4 separate regions of the Homo sapiens genome follow, and all the other regions are linked to region 2. Evidence: promoter capture Hi-C in 16 types of primary human blood cells and fetal thymus (Javierre and others, 2016). All regions are on one chromosome and are shown on one strand. The core of a region is centred on a gene start or on the middle of the fragment in contact, and the rest is flanking DNA. Distances in the headings are between cores, read along the strand shown. Region 1 holds the start of TSC22D2 (TSC22 domain family member 2). Region 2 holds the start of RNF13 (ring finger protein 13). Region 3 holds the start of GYG1 (glycogenin 1). Region 4 holds the start of HLTF-AS1 (HLTF antisense RNA 1).

Evidence for each region. Contacts are between HindIII fragments. The CHiCAGO score rates a contact against its expected background, and 5 or more counts as called.
Region 1: a fragment that was not itself captured here is called in contact with the fragment with the promoter of RNF13 in region 2 in 1 of 17 cell types (total B cells); the score reaches 5.1 in total B cells.
Region 3: the fragment with the promoter of GYG1 here is called in contact with the fragment with the promoter of RNF13 in region 2 in 7 of 17 cell types (fetal thymus, naive CD8 T cells, non-activated CD4 T cells and 4 more); the score reaches 10.2 in fetal thymus.
Region 4: the fragment with the promoter of HLTF-AS1 here is called in contact with the fragment with the promoter of RNF13 in region 2 in 4 of 17 cell types (fetal thymus, naive CD8 T cells, naive CD4 T cells and 1 more); the score reaches 14.1 in fetal thymus.

The regions. Positions count from the first base shown.
Region 1 is chr3:150,404,937-150,409,393 of GRCh38, forward strand. TSC22D2 (TSC22 domain family member 2) reads left to right here and starts at 3,362. Exons shown (of 3, transcript NM_001303264.2): 1 at 3,362-4,457. The coding sequence starts at 4,415. RefSeq lists a silencer at 3,453-4,052 and an enhancer at 4,423-4,457. The HindIII fragment of the contact is 923 bases long and covers 1,804-2,726 here.
Region 2 is chr3:149,810,919-149,815,305 of GRCh38, forward strand. It overlaps RNF13 (ring finger protein 13), which reads left to right and starts at 2,297. Exons shown (of 10, transcript NM_183381.3): 1 at 2,297-2,435. RefSeq lists enhancers at 1,654-2,165, 2,031-2,140 and a silencer at 1,671-1,820. The HindIII fragment of the contact is 6,716 bases long and covers 1-3,643 here.
Region 3 is chr3:148,988,800-148,992,789 of GRCh38, forward strand. GYG1 (glycogenin 1) reads left to right here and starts at 2,741. Exons shown (of 8, transcript NM_004130.4): 1 at 2,741-2,848. The coding sequence starts at 2,842. RefSeq lists silencers at 2,380-3,429, 3,463-3,757. The HindIII fragment of the contact is 9,660 bases long and covers 693-3,990 here.
Region 4 is chr3:149,085,000-149,089,034 of GRCh38, forward strand. HLTF-AS1 (HLTF antisense RNA 1) reads left to right here and starts at 1,333. Exons shown (of 3, transcript NR_046648.1): 1 at 1,333-1,479. It overlaps HLTF (helicase like transcription factor), which reads right to left and starts at 1,534. Exons shown (of 25, transcript NM_003071.4): 1 at 1,318-1,534. The coding sequence starts at 1,337. RefSeq lists enhancers at 861-1,378, 1,284-1,493, 1,379-1,896. The HindIII fragment of the contact is 6,248 bases long and covers 1-4,035 here.

The sequences.
Region 1 (4,457 bases), core at 1,015-3,514, 590 kb after region 2:
TAGAAGTTTCCTTAAAAACACCTCATTATCAAGTAAGCATTTGTGCATCTCAGTCAAATTATACTTTTCTTTATAATAGTATTTATGGAATTTTATTAGCCTTAGTCCTTTCTCATTACATTTTTTTTTCCTTTTTGGGCAATACCACACAATGGTCTCACTGAAAGGGTTTATTAATATGATATTGTTCCAGAAATGGAACCCTACGAAAATCATAGTAATAAATCAAGTACTACTTATTTAGACAACTGATATTTATTTCCAGCAAATGCTTTGTGGAACCTGAAAACTATTCTCCATTTTGTATTTTTCTATTAGGTTGGTGCAAAAGTAATTGCAGTTTTTGCCATCATGTAAGTGACAAAAACCACAATTACTTTTGCACCAAACTAATAACAATTTGGTAATAAAAAACACAGAAAATAAGCATAAACTATTTCTAAACTCCAGAAAAAATTGTTGACTGGGATATAGGTAGTCCAATTCTTAATACACAACACAGGGAATGTTCAATAAATGTCACTGTCTAACTGATAGTATTAATGCTAAAGGGTTACTTCTCTTTGCCTAGGCCATTGCTTAATTTCTATGGAAAGTATTTTCTTTATCCCATAATGTTTAATGCATCATTATTATTTTAAATATAATATACCTTCATTGAAAAAAAAGAGGTTTTCTTGAGTATCTAGAGTTTACATTCCAGGATTTTCTATGAAATAATTCACCATCTGCTACTGATGAGGTTAGATAATAACTTAGGAAAATTTGGGGGTATGATGTTTACAGATGATGAAAAGATGTTGCTGTAGCAGTTTTTTATTTTCATCAGTAGAAACTGTCCTTAGTTTTTAACTGCTTTTATTCCCCTGCATTATGTTTTCTAAATGTATCTCCCATGCATCACTGCAATTTGAAATATTTGAAAAAAGTACCAGGTACAGAAGAAACAGTCAAGTTGGGGGCTCTAAGAGCAGTAATCGAGGATTCCCACAGCCTCTAGTATGGTCTCTGGGTACAGGCATGCAGCCTGGTAACTGCATTAAGACTCCTAGTCTTGAGGTTTGGGACTCCAAGGATCTCTTTATTCCAGTGAGTTAGGCTACCATCTTACTTACTAACCACTCTCTATACAGGGAGCATATGTACTTGCATATACATACTGCTTTCTATCATTTAAATTAGTTATTGAAAGGCTTTCAATTCTTTGTGGACCAACTTTTGAATTACATACTTTTTTGTTTAGATATAGCTATGCCACTTTTTGTCCTCTACGTTGATTTCCAACTTACTTGCAAAAATCAGAATTCTTATTTCTTTGTAGCAGTTTGATGTAATAAATTCTGTACATTTTTTAAGGGCAAATGTATAAAAGTAGCTAGGGCTTTTAAACTTTTGGAAAACAATATTTTCAAGAGAACTATTAAACACAAATCCTTAACCATCTAAATGACACTTTTAAAAGTTATAAATCATATGCTTTTCCTAAGATGTCTTTTAACATCTTTAGCCCCCTCCTTACCAGAAATTTAGTCCACTTCTGGATCTCTTCTAAATTATCTTTATCTTTCCTTTCATCTCATAATATATCATTTTAAGGAGAAATGGTCTTACAGATTACTTTAAGATTTTTCCTCTAAATGTACGATTTAAGAGTATCATAACGAGTAATCAAGAAGTTTATATGATAAGATAATGTAAAGGGATGAGCAGGCATATAATACTCATTTTTCCAAAAGCACCACCATCAACACTACCCATTATAACCACCTTAAACATCTGGTAAATCAATCCAAAATTAAATTAAGCTTTTATAAATTCATATTGGGTTTAACCATTTGATCTAACTTATTGATGGAAAACTGCCTCTAACAATTACTGAAATTACAGACTTAGAAATGAAACATTCCATTAGCTATCTCTGCCACAATAGCATAACGTTACATTTTGTTCCATTACTTTCGCCCAGCCCCTTAAGAAATAGGGATTTTATGTCGTCTTATTTCACATTCTGACTCCAGTCACTTGGGTTTGGAGGGCATGGTTTCCACTAAAGTTAAAAGACCTAGCTCTATAAATTACAACTAAAGACCTAAAAAATTCTCTGCAAATTTAATTCTCAAAACATCTTTTGGGATAAAAAGTATTTCTATTCTTCAAAGATTAGAGAACCGAGTTCAACGATTTACTGATTTAAGTTATCATTATGTGATTGCTAACGCTGCAGTAGATATGAAATCACGATTTCCATTAAGACTTAGATTTTACCTAAATGACGACTGCTTTAGTATGTCAAAGTTTAGGAGCCCATCCCCATTTTTTTAAACTGCTTAAAAGAATGGCCTTAGCATGCCAAAGTTTAAGAGCCCATCCCCATTTTTTTTTAACTGCTTAAAAGAATGGCCTTACCATTTTCTTTGGCCAGGAACTAACTACAAGATGATAAATTTGCCAGTACTTTCTTTTCATAGTTGTTCTTTGCATTGGAACAGGAAAGGGTGCTTTATCACTCGTTACGGTTGTTCATGGCCCAATCCAAATCATATAATACGCTGGCTGCTACTAACAGTTTTAGAATAAACAAAAAGAAGAACTATAATGCAGTAGGTTCTACATTTATAAAGCCCATGAGCTGATTTCGTGCCGAAAGTAAAACAGTCTCAAGAGTTTAAATGAATCCTGGAATCACAGCAAATTCAGGAAATTTAGGAATATGTTGGTAACCCTTAAGCTTTTTAAAAACTGACTACACCCTGGGCAAGTAACCACCCCCTGATGCCGTTGTGGGAGACAGAATTTCTGGCAGGAAGATAATTTTCTGACTCAATCTGGCTTGCCGTTCTTGTTTAATCATCCCCATTTCTCTGAACATTTTACTCCTCTGACTACAATGGTCAACATTTATTTTCAGAAGTTTTAAAGTGATTTAGTTCTTCCAGCCGCACCTCTTTTTATCCCATCTAAGTCTTCCCCAGCCCCCATTCCTATCGCCCTCGTTTCACTAAGATTTTGCTAAACATTAGACACAAGCACATGACCTCCAGTCTTCCACTGTCTCGGAACAAACCGACATAAAAACATCTGATTAGTTCCATTGTAAGCTTCCCTAGGCTTAGAATTTAAAATGGTCTTTAGCTCGTCAATGCTTAAAGAACCTACAACACAAAATTTAAATTTTAAAAATTTTAAATAAAGAAACCGCTCCCTTTTTTAACCTTTAGCCCCGCCCATTGCCCCCCACCCCAGGTTCCACGCGAAACTGCAGGAAACCGGAGGGGGCGGAGCGGTGACGTCACGACGCCGGTGCGTCACGGAACGGCGGCGGCTGCGGCGCTGGCGGTGGCTGCGGCAGCGGCGGCATTTTAGTCGGCAGCGGCGGCGGCAGCGGGGCTGCTGCTCCTCCCAGCATCCCTGGCGCGGCCATTTCAGCCCCATCTTGGCCCAGCGGAGGGAGCTGCAGCCGCCGCTTCAGCAGTTTGAATTTCAGTTTCTTCGGGGTTTAGGAATTGGGCGCACCGAGGAGGAGCCGGAGAAGCCACCACCGCTACCTCACACAGCCGGGGCGCCTCCGGTCCCGTGCCAGCGGTCTGCCGCCGCCGCCCCTCTCTGAGAGAAGCCGCGAGGGGAGGCCGAGACCGCCGTCGCCGCCCGCCCGCAGGGGTGGTTCCCCCTGTAAGGGGAGGACCGAGCCGGCTTTCCCCTCCCCCAGAGCGGGTTTCCGCCTGAGGCAGTCGACATGTCCCTGGGGCTGAGCTCCGGCTAGAGCCGGGGAGGGAGGGCCGCCTGCCCGCGCCACAGCCCCACCGCCCGCCCGCGGACCTTCAGCCAGCTCCGGCCCGCGGCTCCCGGCTGAATTAGGCATCTCCGACTCCGGACTCGCCGCTCCTTCCCTCAGTCAGAGAGCCCAGCGCTGACGCCGGCACCGGCCTGAGGAGCCCGAGCGGGGCAGCACCGCCCCTCACGCCGCCGCCACCGCCTCCTCCTCCTCCTCTTCGCCCTCCCACTCCCACCCCCAGCCAAGGCCTGCTGACCGCGCCGAGCGCCGAGCTGGACTGACCACGGCTGCCCGGAGACGAGAGAGGAAGCAGCCGGCCCGCCCCTGGGTTCGCGCTCTCGCCGCCTCTGAGGGAATTGAATTGAGGCGCCGCGGCTGCGAGAGCTAAAAAGGAAGGAGGAGCCGCCGCGGGACTGAGACGGGGGCAGAGCCGAAGAGACCGACACAGAGAAGGAAACGAGGAGGAGGATGTCTCACCGGGCGGCCAGCGCCTGGATCAGCCCGTGACTCTTAACAGCGGCGGGCCTCAGACCCCAGCGCAGACTCGGACTTTGTCTTTGGGGGCCCGTGCTCTGCCCTCCCCGGTTTCCGACAGGACCCAGAGGAGCCGGCGTGCCTCTCTGCCCTCCAGCCTTCTTCACCATGTCCAAGATGCCGGCCAAGAAGAAGAGCTGCTTCCAGATCA
Region 2 (4,387 bases), core at 1,047-3,546:
AGAGAACTATACCTATTGTTATCTGAAGAGCAGGTTGAAACCAGAAGTAAAATATTCTGTACTCAAGGTGCCTTTAAGGAATAAGCAAAGCTCTTTGTCTGAGCGTGGTGACTCATGCCTGTAATCCTAGCACTTTGGGAGACCGAGGCAAGAAGATCCTTTGAGGCCAGGAGTTTGAGACCTGCCTGGGCAACATAGCCAGACTGTAAGGCTAAAAAAAATAAAAAAATTAGCCAGGCCTGGTGGCACATGCCTGTAATCCTAGCTACTCCAGAGGTTGAGGTGGGAGGATTACTTGAGCCCAGGAGTTCTGGACTGCAGTGAGACATGATCTCACCACTGCACTCCAGCCTGGGCAACAGAGTGAGACCTTGTCTCTAAAATAAATAAAAATAAAACAACAAAACCCAAAGCTCCTCTCTGTGGACTTAATTTTTTTTTTTTTTTTTGGAGATGGAATCTTGCTCTGTTGCCTATGCCCGAGTGCAGTGGTGGGATCTCAGCTCACTGTAACCTCTGCCTCCCATGTTCAAGCGATTCTCCTGCCTCAGCTTCCCAAGTAGCTGGGATTACAGGTGTGCACCACAATGCCCGGCTAATTTTGTATTTTTAGTAGAGACGAGGTTTCACCATGTTGGCCAGTGTGGTCTTGAACTCCTGACCTCAAGTGATCCGCCTGACTTGGCCTCCCAAAGTGCTGGGATTACAGGCATGAGCCACCGCACCCGGCCTAAAAAAATTTATTTTGATGTTATGCAAGAAATCTGATTTAATATACCAATTTGGGATAATTTAATGAAAAAAATGCTTATAGAGATATTATAAATGTGTTTATACTAATTAGTCTTCTTAGTAATATTCCCAATGCTGACTTTTATTTATGACTTTCTTAAAGGCAGAATTGTGATTTAAGTATTGAATGTCTTTGCAACCAATGAAAAGTTAAGACTACATAGAATACTCATAGGATACACAGAAGAGGAAAGTACCTTTGATAGCTTTTATTTAATTTTTTAAAATTTGATCTTAAATTTCTTGTATTTGAATTTTATTTGAGTAGGTAATATTTGCAAGGTTCAAAATTCAAAAGGCACAAAAGGATACACAATAAGGAAAGAGTCTTTTCCCCATTGCTGTGTCCCACCTACTCAGGGCTCTCCAAGCAATCAAAGTGACAAGTTACATCCAATGGTATTCTACTAATACTCTGTGTGATAGCCTCCTCGCCACCATTTTTAAAAGATGATGTTGAAGGAGTTGAAGCCTGTAAAGGCCTTATTAAGGGTGCCTTATTATTTGAAGCAGAAGTAGTGCCTGATTCTATGTCTCCTGACATTTCTTTCAGGACTCTGTAATATTTGCCTAAGTCACACTGCTTTTGTAAGGTGGCGAGTTGGCAATGATTAATCAATGTGGATGGTACAATCCGGTAATTTAAGTTTCGACTGGTTTAAGATTGAGACAACCAGAAAGGAAGGCTTATCAGAAGGGCGGCAGGGGAGGAGATTTTTGGTTCATCAAAAGGAGGCAAGGGTTTTAAAAGGCTGACCTAGGGCCTGAATCACATGGTTTGACTTTTGCTAAGCCCCGGGGATGGCGCGTGTCAGGCCCAGAGTGCTGATGCCAGCGTGGATCCGAGCCAGGCCTCAGGGGACTGGCGTTCAGACCTCGGGCCGCTCGCATCTCTAACAATTTGAGCCCTACTTTAAGGTGTGGCCACGGTCCCCACCCACTCTGATCTCAGACTGGGCACGGTACGGAAGGCGGGCGGATGAGGCCTCGCCCTCGCCTCTTTAGTAGGTCGGGTGAGTGTAGTGTGCAGGGAAGAGACGCGTCAGCGCCAGGGCCAGGCCCGCCCGGGGGCAGCCCGGCAGCCGAATCTTGGGCTACTCTGTCCCAACAGCCGGAGCAGATCAGACCGACCGGCCCTGCCCGCTCGGTCCCGCGCCCTCCAGACCCTACGGTCTCCGTTTCTAGGGGCACATGGTTAGCGGCAGGCGCCCACAGCCAATCCACTTTGCCAGCCTGCCCCTTCCTCTGCCAAGAGCAGCTTCTTCAGCCGCGCTCCAGTTCCGCAGACGCCTGCCCCACCCTGCTCTTCCCTTCCAGGGAAGACGGATCACGCGGCCAAGAACGAGACTCGCAAACTGGGCATTTCTCCGAGCCGGGCTAGAGCAAGTAGCGAGACTCCGCGTGAGAGTGGGAAAGAGCCTTAACAGGCAACCATGTTGCCCAGTGGGTTTTCTGTGCCTTTGGGTGCGGACCAATGAGGCGCGTGGGGCGGGACTTCCGCTTCGCCTAGGTGTTGTCGTCCCTGCTAGTACTCCGGGCTGTGGGGGTCGGTGCGGATATTCAGTCATGAAATCAGGGTAGGGACTTCTCCCGCAGCGACGCGGCTGGCAAGACTGTTTGTGTTGCGGGGGCCGGACTTCAAGGTAAGACCCTGTCCGGCTTCGCGGCAGCCGGGCAGCTCGTTATCGAGCGGCCCAGAGAACATACCCCGCTTGTTGGCCCTCGAGCTCGGAGTCGGCCCTGCTGCTGAGGTCTTTGCTGCTCCTCTAGAGCTGGGTGAGAAGTCAATTAGGCTTTTTGCAAAAGGAATAAAATAGCCTTGCCCTCGGGGGACCGAGTCTCCCCTGCACTCTCATTCCGCGAGTTTGTGTGTGTCCAAAGTTGAGTTACCGGTTTTGCTTCTCTCATTCCCTTCTTGAGGCTGCAAGAGCCTGCCTGGAAAACATGTTTGGAAGGCTTTTCTTGGTCAAGTACCTGCCGCAACGTCCTCGGGCACATCGCTTGACTTTAGTTGAGGGGGCTGTTTTGTCTCTGAATAGAAGGAGGGCAGTCACTTCCTCTCTTTTACCCCCACCCCCTTTTTCTTTCCCTGGAAGCTCAGATTGCAGGTTTGGGACTTAACCCCTGCTAGGGCCAGATACTACGGTCAGTCAGCAGCTCTGCCTGTATGCTTGACTTGACTTGACTTGCACTTATTAAATAACTTTGTCCCAGAGAGAAAGAGAGAGTGGGCAGACATCGAAGCCAAACAGCAGTATCCCGGAAGCACTCATGCAACTTTGGTGGCGGCCACTCAGTTTTCTCTGCCAGTGTCTGGTAAATTCCTCTATTTTGTCCTAATCTGACAATAGTAAATAGTAAATTTCCAAAACTGTCGTTTCATCATCAGTTTCAGCACCGTGGGCAGCTGCTCGGGTCCTCTCTTGTTGCCCCAAACCTGCCCGGCTATTACTGTTCGTCAGTGATGCAGCAGAAACAGTGAAAACTGATGCATTCCTTTCAACAATGATGTGTTTGTTCTCCAAGGAGAACATCTGCAGTTTTTGATACAATATAAATAAGTAAGGTGGCTGTGCCTCCAAAGAGTTCTTCTGGAGAAACAGATCAATTCAAGATTTAAGGTAGGGCTTTCAAGAGTTTATGCTATTTAAGCACAGTTTTTTAATGGGTGGACATTAGCTCCATCTCGAAGTAACAAAACTGGACAGTGATAGCAATTAAAAAGAACTTTAAACAGGAGGTAAGAAGTGTAGTGCAGTGCTGTAGTGCAGGAAGTGTAGTGCAGTGCTGTAGTGCAGGGCCCATAAGGATTCATTAATAGATTTTAGAATCAATTTAGTACATTGACATAAGCTTTATAAAGAAAGAAAAAATACCAGAGGACATTGTATGGAATAAAAGTAAATATTATGGCAAGAAGCTTTTGTTTCAGTTTTTAACAGTATGTGTGTGTCAAGAGGAAGATGGAAATGTAAAGTGTATTATGGATTATGGCAAAAACAAATGTTTCAAAATACTAAATTCCAAATTTGGGAGTCAAGCTGGGTTCAGCTCTGCCATTTACTAATTCTGTGACATTTTCCGTAAATAAGAAATGAGTTGTTATGAGGATTAAATGAAACAAAATTTGTCTATTACATAATTTTTTTTTGTTTTGTTGGAAACTGTTGGAGAGAGGCACAGTTATTTTTCTCTATGTAGGGAATGAGAACTGTTTTATTAGTTTTTTTTTTTTTAACCTCTGCCTTTGTTTGAAGCTAGGCAGCTTGACATCTTGTCTCTATGTGTAATGCAAATCATAGACAGAATCTTGGTTTGAGAGGTATAATACTGAAGGGTTTGGGATAAGTTCTCATCTATGCTTGTATAAAGCTAATTTTCTCAATAATTTTGGAGGGGCATAAATTGTTGCTAGCATTCAGCTTTCTTCCCTTGATATTTTTCTGCATTCCAGAATAACGTAGATTTATCAGAACTTTTACAGGCACTAACTTTAGCTAAGTGAGGGTAGGCCTGAGGGTATGACTAAAGGGATAGATTTATGTCTTTGAGTTAAGTTGGCTAGGAAGGCATTTTATGCCTTATAGTTCTTGCC
Region 3 (3,990 bases), core at 1,491-3,990, 820 kb before region 2:
AGGAAGGTAAGTATCCTGCCAAAAAAATTACATAATGCATTACAAAGCCAATTTAAAATGAATTTTGGACCATTCCGAATATATGAATTCAGCATAGGTTTAAATGGTTAATAGTCATGCCTACTGATGTAGGGTATAACTTATCTTTTTTAACTTAAATCTTTCTTTTAGGATTCTGTAATTTTACTAGTTCAAGTTTCACAAGAAAAAAAATAACAAGCTAAAATCTGAAACATTTGCCTCACTATACCATGTTTATCCACTACCTCTAAGGCCTTACAATCCAAAATGTTTGAACACCTCACTATTCAAAGTGTGGGTCCATAGCCTGGGGATCACCTGGGAGACCCACCCCCAAACTACTGAGTCAGAATCCGCATTTTAATAAGATCCTTGGGCAATCTGTGTGCGCATTAAAGTTTGAGAGGTCTTGCTCTCACACCAGACTGAAGCTCACTGCAGGGCAGCCTCAGGAAAAGTAGGCAGTGGGGTCATTATGATCTATATTAAGACAATGAAGAAGAACAGATTGTAGCAACCTCAAAATGTCCCTATTTGATTCAAAGTGGTAAAAGCTGTAAACTTTCTATTTGTGTAAATATACATGAAGCTCAGGAAGGGAAGCTGTGGTAACCGTTCCTTTTACTTAAACGTCCTGGGAGTTGCAGCAGAGAGGAGCTTGTTCTAAGGGAAGCTTTTCTGTTTTTCCCAGTTGTCCCCAGTTCTACCTCCTGGCTTTGCCCTTTCAGCCCCATCACCACATCCCTGGCTAAGTCCAGCCTGAGATAGTAGGCTGCAAGAAGTAGATGGTTAAGGGTCAGCTGATGGCAGGAGGGTTCTGGGTGAAAGATGGAAATCTCACTCTTCCAAGTTCACCTCTCAGTCTGCAAAAGAGCAATCAGACTGAGAAGTACCTCTCTTTGTTTTCCCTCTCCCCACTTAAGATACAAAAGTGTAGCCTTTGTGTTCCTTAAAGAGCTCCAACTCTTCTATGTCTATATCTTTTGAATAAGTGGAAACCCATCTATTGCCCTTTCCACTTTTCTGTTTCCTACAACGGAAGCACATAATGCCAAGTAACTGGGAGGGCCTCCCATGTGATCAGCGGTCTCTAGGCCATGGTCAAGACTAGGAAGGACTCAAGAGAGGCTCCTGGAAGGTGATATTTAAAATACTGATTTTAAGGTTCTACCCTTAAGATTCTTTTTGTTTTGTAACCTGTTTTTCTTCAAATAATATATTTTGAACAGCTTTTTATATTAAAAATATATAATGATTATGCCTACAGAGTATTTCATTACCTCAAGAGTATATGACGCGACTTCAAAAAGTCCATAGAATATACATATTATAAAAAAAAAATGCATGGATTTCAAAATTATTTTGCACCAAAATAAACCTACCCTTAAGATTCTGATTCAGGAGGTCTGGGCTTAGGCCCAAAAATCTACGCTTTAACCAGTGCCCCCAAGTGATTCTGATGTAGGAGATCCACACCCACACACGAGGAAACAGTGATATAACTGGTTTGAGGACAGCAGTACCACCTTTGCAAATAAATCACTTATTCTTAAGCATCTGTTTTGCTTTTTGAACTGATGTCAACTTCCTGATTGGTTTCCAAATGGCTTTGCAGTACTCATTCAACATTTACCGAGCAATTTCAGTTTTCAGTTTGCAGAGAACTGAACTACCCGAGGCTTGTTCTGTGTTTGGACTGGGGATGGGGAGCAGAGAAGGATGTGATCACATTAAAGCTATTTCTCAACTTCCTAGAAAAATGACAAATTGACCATTTCAAGATTTGTGAAACAGGTTAGCATTGGCTAACCACAGTTACAATAATTTACTAACCTTTTTGGAGCCCCTGTGTACAAGAGGCACCAAGACTTTCTGGGTGGGAAGGTTGATTCTGTAACCAAACTGCCAGGGTTTAAATCCTACTTTCTCCATTTATATTATATGACTATAGAAAAGTTAGCACTTTGGGAGGCTAAGGCTGGCAGATCACTTGAGGCCAGGAGTTCCAGACCAGGCTGGCCAACATGGTGAAACTCTGTCTCTACTAAAAATACAAGAAAAAAAAGAAAAGAAAAGTTAATTTAACTTTTCTGAGCTCAGTTTCCTCCTCGTCTGTAAAATGAATATGTAACACCTCACTGAGTTCGTACAAGGATTAAATGAAGCACTTAAATGCCTAATTGATGCAGATGGCTCCAAGAATTTAACATTTACGAAATATTCACTATATTTTTTAGGTTAAGGGTACAAAACCATTGTGAGTACACTAAGGAATGATTATAGAGGCTGATCGAAATTCTGCAAAAAAAGCGTAAATTTTACGTTTCATTCAAGCAGTTCAGACTCACGATTTTAACTAGAGTAATCTGGGGTTTGTTTGCTTGTTTTTTAAGGTTCCCTAACCCTTGGCTTCTTGGGGAGTTTGATGCCGCACTCAGCCCCAAAGTCCCCCTTAACTCCCAGGTTTAGCGGCGACAGGGGGCGCGCGGTTGACAAGGGCAGGCGCCCCGGGGAAGTAGGAGCAGGGGCGCCGGTGAGCCGCAGCCGCAGCGGCAGCCTAGCCCCGAGGGAGGGAGGAGGAGCCGAGGGAGACGCGGGACCCGGAGCCCCGCGGGCCACCGCCCCTGCCGGCCGCGCAGCTGGGAGGATGCGGACGGCAGCGAGAGCGTGCGCGGCCACGTGACGGCCGCTATAAGAGCGCACGGGGCAGACGCTCGGTTCCCCGCCGTGCCTCCTCGCTGGCCGCGCTCCCTCCCGGTGCCGGCTTCTCTGAGTCACCAACCTGAGGCTGCCCCGGCCGCCTGCGCACCCGGCAGCACCATGACAGGTACCGCCGCGCAGCCCGCCGCCGCCAGCCCCGGGACCCCGGCTTCCTGCCCAGCCGCCGCCTCCCTTCTCCTCCGCCCTCAGCCCCGGAGTGTTCCCGGCAGGACGAAACCGCCGCAAAGTTGCTGGCTGGCCGCAGCCGGGCGTGTTTCTGCCTGCGTCAGCTGCCGCCCCGCCGCCCCCCAGAGTGCAGGGATGGGGCAGCCGGGCAGAGCCCGGGCCCTCGGCCGGAGCTCTCGTTCCTGCTTCCGTCTCCTCGTCCTTCCTCTTGCTCTCACGGCGAAGGGCCGGCGGGCGGAGCAGCTGCGGCGGGGCCGTGTGGGGGTGGGGAGCCGGTTCCCCTGGGGGTTCCAGGCGGGAGTCCGGGGCGCAGCGGCATCGTGGGGAGCTGCCCCGGCCTCTGGCGGCCCGGAACCCCAGGAAGCAGGGGCTCCGAGGCGGGGATACTGCGGCCTCCGCCCGGCTCCTCCGCCGCCCGCCCCGGCCCCGGCCGCCACGCTGAGCCTATTTTTAGGCCTTTGGGGCCGGGTTGCGGGAAGCCGGGAGTCGGACTAGCGTCCCCGGGCGCGAGCCCCGTCTGGTGGGAGGGCGCCGGCTTTGGCTTCACTTGTTGCGAGGCGTCCGGGCCACTCCACGAGTTAGCCCCAGCACTGGGAAGCTCCGAGTTAGCTGGTCCTTCCGTGTCATTGAGGCTAATAGCCAGGGTTATTACAGCAGTTGAACTGCCACAAAGATTGCAGGTGTAACCCAGAGTTCAGCCGTCTTTAGGAAGATTAAACTCCTACCCAGCTGTCATTGGTCTTTCTTGGTCATTTGTAATGTTGGCTAGTCTGGTGTTCTAACCTGTGTTCTATCCCTTATTTAATCTTGGAAATCATCCATATCCTTGCTTCCAGAAATCCTTGAATCCTGCTCACCTTATTACATTTTTCTCCATGATCGCCTGGAACCTGGACTTCATTTGAGTTAGATGATCATTCATTTTGCCTAGCTTAAGTATTTTTGGTACAGATTGACAGCGATGTTACCCATGTTATAATGGGCTGAAGATAATAGAAGCAAGTACAGGCGGATGTTGATGGGCCTGTCAAGGGACAGGTGCCACTGTTCAGAGCTTTCCTAGAGTGTGAGTGACTGGGAAGC
Region 4 (4,035 bases), core at 83-2,582, 730 kb before region 2:
TCACGGTAAAGATTAATAGTTACTCTCGTTAAAGCAGGAATTGCAGTGAGTGGAGAAGGCTTCTAGGAACTCTACCTGTTTTCAATATTGGCTCTTCTACCTGCCCCCTAGGTATTCAAAATGAAAAGCCTAGTCAGAGTTCACTAACCTCTTTCCCAGTGAAAATCATCTAAATTGATATGTATATGATGTCTGTAACTACAATTATGGGCCGGATGCGGTGGCTCACGCCTGGAATCCCAGCACTTTGGGAGGCAGAGGCAGGTGGATCACCTGAGGTCAGGAATTTGAGACCAACCTGGCCAACATTGTGAAACCCTGTCTACTACAAATACAAAAATTAGCCAGGCGTGGTGGCGCCCATATGTAATCCCAGCTACTCGGGAGGCTGAGGCAGGAGAATCACTTGAACCCGGGAGGCGTAGGTTGCAGCGAGCCGAGATTGTGCCACTGCACTCCAGCCTGGACGACAGAGCGAGACTCCATGTCAAAAAAATAATTTAAAAAATGAAATCATATGCCAAAATTTCAATAGGGATTGAGCTATATAAAAGACTTATAAAAATACAACTATTAATGTACCAGAAGTTGTTTATAATTTTCCAGAAAATACATCCAGCATCCATCACTGTAACTCCCTGCGAGCAGAACACCTATTCTGGTATCCAAACCACGCCACCGTGGGAAATTGGCCCCAAGCCACCCGTACCCGCCTTCCGTCGCCGGTTTAAGCATAACCCCAAACCCATTAGGTGTAACTGTTTCGGGAATGACCATAAATACCAATTTGGACAATGAAAAGTGAAGGGGAGTCTACTGGAGCATTGCAAAAAGTTTCCATTCTCCTAAGAACAGTCGCTTATTTGCGATGCGTTTTCCTTGCAAGTGGCGCATATCTCTACTAGCGCCTCTGCAAATACTTATCTGCACGTCTGTGCATACAGATAAGCTGTGAGCCACTTGGGGACAAGGACTGTCTTACTCGGCCCTCCACCGAGCACAATGCCTGGCGCACAGTGGGTATCTAATGGATGTTTTGTTAAATAAAGCACTGGCCGAGATGCTTTAAGCCCCAGGCCCCCCACAGTCGGTGACAGAGATTTCCCAAGTCCCTAACACGGGACTCGCCCTAGGAGCCCCTACTCGCCAGCGAAGACAATGCATTTATTTCTCCGGCGGCCACATATGCGACCAACAGAACGAATACAGCTGCACAAATCGCCCAGGGAACGCAGAGGAACGCGGGGAAGGTCAGGTTCATTTGGGGACGCCTCCAGGCCGTTAGACCGAGCGCCCCACCCCCTCCGCCCCCTTCACCTCTTGAACATCCAGGACATGGCGCTGAGTGGGATGACAAGAGGAGCGCCTCGGCTCCCCTGGATCGTTTTCGAGCCGCCTCGATACGCCTCCTTCCAGGCCCCGCAGCCCTGAAGCCGGGGACAAATTCCGAGCGCCGGATCAGGAGCGCACGACTGAAAGGTAAGTCGCCGCGAGTCCAGTCAGACGTCGACGCCGTCTCCTTCTGCAACAATCTGGGAGACCAGCGTCGCTCTGTGACTGGCACTAGGAAAGCCCAATCACGAAGAGGAGAGTGCGGAGCCAAACCAGTCAGAGCACAGAAGGGAGGGCAACTCCGCCCCGCTGCCATTCAAAGACGGCGGGGGGTCCGGGCTGCAAGGGTGGTTCCATCCGGGTTCTTCCCCGCCCCCAAGGCGGGCGCGCGGGAAAGCCACGAGGCCCCAGGAGTGCGACTGCGGTGCCTGCGGTGCCGGTGTTTTGTTTGATTCCCTGCCTCAAACGGAGGGAAACGACCTTCCTTTATCCTACGAGTCCTAAGACTGAACCCCATTCTAAAGGCTCTACCGTATCCTTCCTCTTATTTTCTTCTCATCTAATGTGGCACATAATAGGGCCTTATACTAAAGGAGCTCCACGGTTTACGAGACCTAGAGCTACCGGCGAGATACTTTACTTCATTCCCTGTGGTGAACCGTGGGGACTTTCGCTCCAAATTTTCATGTTAAGCCTCAGCGTATGCATGAGACACAACGAGTTTGGAAAATCTTAAATGGAACTTAGAGTCCCCTCCCCACCTCTTTTTGTTATTTTTAAGGAAAATTTTCCTTTCTTGGTGCAGGAAACCCATCACATGTTTATTACAGCTATGGGGGCGTTTGCCTGAAATGGTGGACGGGACCATTTTCCCCGTGGGCACTTGGCTGCTCCAGCCAAGAGGGGGAGGCCCTTGTTTTCCTCAAGGAACTGCAGAGGGGCGCTCTGAGGCCCTCCATGGCTCTCTTTCCAGAGTCTGAGGTGACCGGAAGGAGAATGCGGCCCTGGGACCGTCAACCTTGGACCAGCTGCAGCCGACGCCTGGCAGGGCTGGTCGCTTTGCGTTGAGGAGGCTGCTGTCCCCGAAGCTGGCCTTTTAATCGCACAGGGCAGGAAGCTGGTGGTGGCGCCCAGCTGCACAGGCGGCACCATGTAACTGCCAGATAATACTTGCGCGTCACAGAGAGGTCCATGTTACACGCCTGTCAGCACAATAATATTAGGTGGTCAGCTTTTCTTTTTTCTTTTTTTTGTTTTTTTTTCTTTTTTATTGAGATGGAGTCTTGCTCTGTCCCCCAGGCTGGAGTGCAATGGGGGTGATCTTGGCTCACTGCAACCTCCGCCTCCCGGATTCAAGCGATTCTCCTGCCTCAGCCTCCGGAGTAGCCGGGATTGCAGGAGCCCGCCACCACGCCCAGCTAATTTTTGTATTTTTAGTAGAGACGGGGTTTCACCATATTGGCCAGGCTGGTCTTGAACTCCTGACCTCAGGTGATCCGCCCGCCTCGGCCTCCCAGAGTGCTGGGATTACAGGCATGAGCCACCGTGCCAGGCCGGTAGTCAGCTTTTCAAGACACATTTGTTCATTATCGTAAATAAACTGTAGTGATCTCTAATCATGAACCATGGATGAGCAATAGAATTTGAAACAATGTATTATTTCATTTGACCAAAGTTGATGAGGAAGATAAAGACAATGGCATTTCAAATTATTTTAATTGTTGTATGTTCTTCTTGAAGTGTGTTGAGGCAAATGGCAATACAGTTCAGCTTTTAGTATGCCAGATTTTAAATAAATTCTTGGAAAATATGCCAGAAATTGCTCAAATTGATGTTTTGTAAGAGTAAGAAAGTCATGCTCACTAGACAAAGAAAAAATTCCAAATATGAGAACATAGCTCTTTCAGACTTAAGACTGGCCAGGCGCAATGGCTCACACCTATAATCCCAGCACTTTGGGAGGCCGAGTTGGGTGGATCACCTGAGGTCAGGAGTTCGAGACCAGCCTGGCCAACATGGTGAAAGCCTGACTCTACTAAGAAAATACAAAAATTAAGCAGACGTGGTGGCACGCACCTGTAGTCCTAGCTACTTGGGAGGCTGAGGCAGGAGAATCGCTTGAACCAGGGAGACATGGGTTGCAGTGAGCCGAGATCAAGCCACTGCACTCCAGCCTGAGCAACAGAGCGAGACTCCATCTCAAAAAAATAAAAAGACTTAAGATCTATGAATAATGACTGTCCCATGGTTAAAGAATGTGCTTTGAATGAACTAAAATTTGCTATTTAAAGGAATGGTATGGAAAGGAAAGGAATCCAAAATTTCTCCATCCAGCCACTTCCCAGTCACAAACACACTTCTCATCTGCACCCCCAGCCACACACACACACATGCCCGCGCGCGCGCACACACACACACACACACACACACACACAGAACCTTTATGCAAATTAATCATGTCATGTCACTCCCCTGTTTGATTCAGTGAGCCTGAAATCCAAGAATGGCATATGTGGCTCTTCCTCCCACAGTATGTTTTCTCTATGTTATCAATATTTCACATCCCAGAACCAGGAGTAAAACATTCTTTCCCTTAATCATTCTTTGTTTTATATTTAAAGATCAAGTACAATTTGTACTAGTTTGATTAAAATGTTACAGCAATTACAATTTCAAAACTATTATACTAAATAATGTTTTCTG